Regions from separate parts of the Homo sapiens genome. Here region 1 is linked to region 2. Evidence: promoter capture Hi-C in human tissues and cell types (Jung and others, 2019). All regions are on one chromosome and are shown on one strand. Each heading gives the region's core, a stretch centred on a gene start or on the middle of the fragment in contact. The rest is flanking DNA. Distances are from core to core; before and after follow the strand shown.

Evidence for each region. Contacts are between HindIII fragments. The study calls those that stand out against the background at their distance.
Region 1: a contact is called between a fragment that was not itself captured here and the fragment with the promoter of MEIS3 in region 2, in 2 of the 25 tissues and cell types used here (IMR-90 fibroblasts and neural progenitor cells).

The regions. Positions count from the first base shown.
Region 1 is chr19:47,613,193-47,615,892 of GRCh38, forward strand. All of the region lies in intron 1 of BICRA (BRD4 interacting chromatin remodeling complex associated protein), which reads left to right. Among named protein-coding and RNA genes, the nearest start is that of BICRA, 5.4 kb to the left of the region's middle. RefSeq lists enhancers at 1-242, 1,905-2,700. The HindIII fragment of the contact is 4,325 bases long and covers 1-2,700 here.
Region 2 is chr19:47,418,156-47,420,855 of GRCh38, forward strand. MEIS3 (Meis homeobox 3) reads right to left here and starts at 1,372. Exons shown (of 13, transcript NM_001301059.2): 1 at 915-1,372. The coding sequence starts at 926. RefSeq lists enhancers at 1-458, 459-1,452. The HindIII fragment of the contact is 42,961 bases long and covers 1-2,700 here.

The DNA of each region.
Region 1 (2,700 bases), core at 172-2,671, 200 kb after region 2:
ATGAAGGGGGAGTTCCTGGGGGTGTATAAGGCTCCCCAGGTTCCCGTGGGCCACCTTGTAGCCCAGGTCTAGCCAGCAGCCCAGTTCCCCCGCCAGCTCTCAACCCCCACCCGCCAGGCTGCCTTGACTCCAGGTCTCAAGAATGCAGAAGGCTGCTGGTAGGGGAAGTTAATTGGAAACAGGAAAACATGGCATTCCTTTCCAGGCCGCCTGGGCTTGGAAGGCAGAGGGGCTGCCATTTCCCTTCTCCCGCCCTGCAGGGGAGAGGGGTGGGGAGTATGGTTATCTTGCCCTGGTCATATTTGAGCTTTCTTCCCCGACCAGGCACCCTCACTTAGTAGAAACAAGAGCAGTCACCCGTGCCGTGTCCACGATGACAACTGCTGCCTGCTCCCCCAGCAGAAGAATTGCCCCCTCCTTACTCACCCCTTCATATCCCTCTGGTTTTTTGTCCCCTGTCTTGTCTGAGCTAGCTCCCTGGTAGGATGCACCTTATGCCACACTAGAGACGCATGGGGAGCGTTTGGTTGAGGGGTCCCCAGGGAGTGTCTCCTGGTTCCGTCCCTCGCATTCTCCTCTGCCTGGAGTACCACCAGTAGAGTTTTGTCCCAGTTGACTGAAGCTTTTGTGTCTCAGTGACACGCAAGTTTCCCCAGTGGAGAGGGAGAGTTTTCTAAGGCATTTCTAGTTTGGTGACAATTAGTTTTGTGTATGAGTGTATGTATTCATTGGGGGGAGGGGGAAAGGAGTGTTGGCACAAGCAGAGAAGGCCTTTGTTTCTTTAATTGTTCCCAATTAAACTTCCTGAGGGCCTACTGTGTGACAGGGCCCTGGGGATCAGTTAAGACCTTGGGACACAGTCCAGGAGGAGGAGAGAGAACGGTTGGATTAGCCGCTGTGGGGTTTCATTCATTCTGTCTGGGTGGTCTGAGACATCATCTTTTTCTCTGTCTGCCTTTTGTTCCTTTTGTTCTAAGTGATACACACACGGGGCAAATTCAGAACACTAAAGATGGTGTCTCTCCCTCTAACCTCTCCAGAATCCCTGGTCCCCTAGCTCTCTTCCCCAGAGACAGCACCTCCATTCTGATGTTCTGTGCATGTACTTTTATATATGGATGTTATGTGTTTAAAACTATTCAGGCCGGGCATGGTGGCTCACGCCTGTAATCCCAGCACTTTGGGAGGCTGAAGTGGGCAGATCACCTGCGGTCAGGAGTTCAAGACCAGCCTGGCCAACATGGTGAAACCCCATCTCTCCTAAAAATACAAAAATGAGCTGGGCATGGTGGTGCATGGCTGTAATCCCAGCTACTCAGGAGCCTGAGGCAGGGGAATTGCTTGAATGCAGGAGGCGGAGGTTGCGGTGAGCCGAGATTGCGGTAGCACTGCACTCCACTCCAGCCTGGGCGACACAGCGAGACTCTGTCTAAAACAAACAAACAGACAAACAAAAAACTATTCATCTTACACAGATGGTAGTCTGGTCTATGCATTGCTTTTTTTCCACGCTTCATCTCCCTGGGAGACCCTACCAATGTAGGTCTTCCTCTATCTTTTTCTTGGCTGCATGGTATTCCTCTGTGTGGGTGAATCCTCCTTTACTGTTATGGACGTGGAGGTGTTTCCAAAGGTTTCTGTGTGAAGCATGGGAAGGCATACGTCCGCACATGTTACAGGGAAATGAGTACGCCTGTGGGATAGACTCCTGGAAGTGGGATTGCTAGATCAAGGGCCAGTGATTTGTCTTTTGGTAGCTCTTACGGAGCACCTTTGATGTTGCACGTTGCATCTTTTTTTATTTTTTTGAGACAGAATCTTGCTGTGTCACCCAGGCTGGAGTGCAGTGGCGCCATCACTTTTCACTGCAGCATTATCCTTCCTGGGCTCAAGTGAGCCTCGCATCTCAGCCTCCCCAGTAGCTGGGACTACAGGTGCACGCCACCACGCCCAGGGAGTTTTAATATTTTTGGTAAAGACGAGGTCTCACTGTGTTGCCCAGGCTGGTCTTGAAATCCTGTTCAAGCACTCCTCCCGCCTTGGCCTCCCAATGTGCTGGGATTACAGGCGTGAGCCACCGTGCCCGGCCCCTCATGCTGCACCTTGAAGAAAGTTGTTCTCTTTCTCTCCTCTTCAATGTGATCCCACCTGTCGCCCAGGCAGCATCTCCAGGCTGCACGTGTCTTTGCCTCAGGTGACCTCCTTGTGTCTGATGACCTCCTTGCCTCTTCCTCCTGCTTATGGCCTGCGTCATGTGCTTGCCACCTGGTGTGGAGGTCAGGAGCGTGGGCTCTGGGCCCTGCCTGTTGGTTCTAATCCCAGTTCTGCTATTTGCTGGCTGAATGGCTGTGGACAGGGGACTTGCTTGGGGCCTTGGTTTTCCCCTCTATTAAGTGGGTTCATATCAGTACCTACTTGGTAAGGCTCTTGTGAGGGTCCCCAAACACCCATAAAGTGCCAAGGTAGCCTTGTCAGTCAGTGTCGGTGTCACCTGTCATTCTTAGGCAGTTTATTTCTCCTGGGGACTGTGACCCCCTTAATTGGCAGGTGTTGGATGGAATGCTGGCTTCTCTGCTTAATTGCAGTGTGACCCTGGGCAAGCAATTCCTTTGCATGGCCTCAGTTTCCTTGTCTATAAAATGGGCCCATGATGCCTCCCTCGTAGGGTCTGCTGTGAGGCTGAACGAAGCAATGTTCTGC
Region 2 (2,700 bases), core at 122-2,621:
ACAGAACCATGCACCTGGGAAGCCAGGGGCACCTTCCTCTCATCAGGTCAAATCCCTTCCTCAGTGATGAAGACACGGAGGCTCAAAGAGGCAGCAGGACTCGCACGGGAAGAGGCTAGAACGTTCCTGCCTCGGACCCTCGCCTGGCTGGGCACCCTGGTTCTGTGTGTCCCACTCTTTCCCTCTCCCTCTTCTCCTAACTTCTCCTGTGCCCTGAAGTTGAATCCAACTGCTCCCCGCTGCTCAAGGCACTCTCACCAAAAGCGGTCCTCACAGCCTACCCGGAACCCCCAAAACGGGCGCGCGCCTCCTCCCCTGTCTTCTATCCCCGTTCCCATCCCCAGGGAGACAGGCTCCGTGGGGCCAGCAGCCTGGTGAGACCACCTCTCCCACCCCTGTCCCACTCCTAGCCCTGGAGAGGCAGGGGCGGCTTGGAACAAAAGTAGAGCGAAGGGAAGGACGGAGGAGAGCAGAAAAAAGGGGGGACGGTGAGGTGCGGGCGGCTGAGATGGAGGAGGAAGCCCAGGAACAGAGGAGAGAGACTGCGGGTGGGGGAGGGCAGAGAGAGGGGGATAGAGAGGCAGAAAGAGGGGGGAGACCAGGGACAGAGAGAGGGGGACAGAGAGGCAGAAAGGAGGAGGAGAGTGGGGCAGACAGAGGGGGACAGAGGGGCAGGGAGAAGGAGAAGCTAAACGATGGGGAGGAGGCGAGGCCGAGGGCCAGGAAGAGACACTTGGGGGCAGAGAGGGGGCACACAGGGACTGGGAGACCCAGGGGCGGAGGGAGGGGCAGAGAGAGAGCGAGGTGGTGTAGAGGACGGATGGGCTAATGGGGGCCAGCGCCGGAGAGTGGGGGATGCAGGGACAGGGGGTGCGGAAGCGGCCGGGACGCGGGGTCCCCGCCCCGAGACCTACCCTCCGGGCCATGGGCTGAGGCCGGCGGCAGCTCCTGGGTCCCTCCAGAGCCTGGCCGCGGGGGAGGGCGCAGCCCGGGGCCGCAGCCCCTGACGGCCCGCGGTGTTGACGCCAGGGGGTGGGCAGGAGGCCAGGCGCGCGCCCCCCCACCCCCGCCGCCGTCAGCGGCAGGCGCCGGGCCGGGTGGGGACTCCGCGCATGGACCCCGGCCCCCGCCCCCAGCGGGGGTCACGGCCAGGAGCGCATCGCCGCCGGGGCGGGGGCAGCAGGCGCAGGCGGGGCGCCCGAGGCCCCCTCCTCTGGGCCCCCCCCGTCCCTTCCCCGGCTCTGGAGGGAATCGAACCGTCCCGAGACGGACACACCGGGGACCGCAGGGGGCGGGGGGCGGCCCGGGGCGACGGAGGGTCCGGCGGCGGCTCAGGGGTGCTGGCAGCCGCGCTCCCCGTTCCCGGTCTCTCCCTTGTCTTGTGGAAATTAAACAGAACCACCAAGGAGCGGGATAGGGGATGAGCCAGAGTGAGCCTGCAGAGCTACAGCACGAGGGATTGGGGTTAGGGCAGCAGCAGCACTTCCGGTGGGAGTCGGGGAGGGGCAGGCTGTGGGGGGAGGAGAGGAAGAGACCGCGGCCCTGGTGCCCCCAGGCCCCTCCTCTCCTACCCAGGGCTGGGGTTCCTGCTCCGGGTTTCTCAGTCTCCCTCTTTCCCAGTCTCTCTCTCCTTGTCTCTCTCTGTCTCCGCTTCTCCCGTCCTTTCTCTCCTCTGGCTCTCTGTTCTCCGAGCCCCCTGGACACACCACGGACCCCCTCCCTGGCCATCTCCAGGGGTCACGTGGGAATCTGGAGTCTGGTCCCACCGTAGGCTCTCCCCTCTCTGAGGCTCGATTCCCCCTCTGCAGGATGGGCAGTGCGCTGGGGGCGGCGGGGGTGGGCTGTGGATAACGGAGAAACAGTTAAGCTAGAGGGTGCCAGGACTCAGGGTCTTGGCTGAGTCTGGGGGTCCCCATGCCGGCGGGCTCTGCCCCCGTGGCTGTCCTGCGGTGAGGCTGGCCGTTTAAGGCAGTCCGAGGGGAAGGGTCTGGAGGCCTTGCCTTTCCTCAAGGCCGGCGCACCCCAGATAGGGGTTTTGGAGCAGAAAATTAATTTAAATCACTTTTTAATTAAAGACACAAGGCCCTTTGGTCTGCTCCACCCCCACCTCACCCTCAGCCAAGACTTGGGGTGAGGGATGCAAGGGTTAGGAGTCTCTGGCTCTATTTGCTTTTTTGGGGGGTGGTGCATGCTAAGGTCCCCTTAGCCCAGGCTGATTCTGAAACCTAGAGGAGCAAGTGCGGCCTCATCTGACGGCCAGTGGTGGGGGGCGTGGACAGAGCAGGAAGGGAGGGAGGGGGCACCTGGGATGGGGATGGGGCCTAACTGGAGTGGGGAGGGAGGTAACTCCAGTGACGGTGTGATTCAGAGAGAGAGAGAGACAGAGACAGACGCGGGTGGGAGGAGAGAGAGAGAGAGGTGCAGACAGAGTGAGACAGACAGGAGGGGGAGGGAGTGGGGGACAGGAGCTCCAATAGAGACCCTGGAGTCGTCCCTGCCACCCCCAAAACAAGAGCAGGGGGCTTGGACTCTGAAGCATAAATCTTTCTAATTAAAGAAAGAGACGAGCTGTTGGGAAGGGAGAAATAAGTGTGTGGGAGAGAAATTGATTGGGGGAGGATGGAGGATGCCGGCGGGGGACGGAGGGAGCAGGGGGGAGGCTCCGGCTTTCTGAGGCTCTTCCTCCAGTCTTTCCCTCTG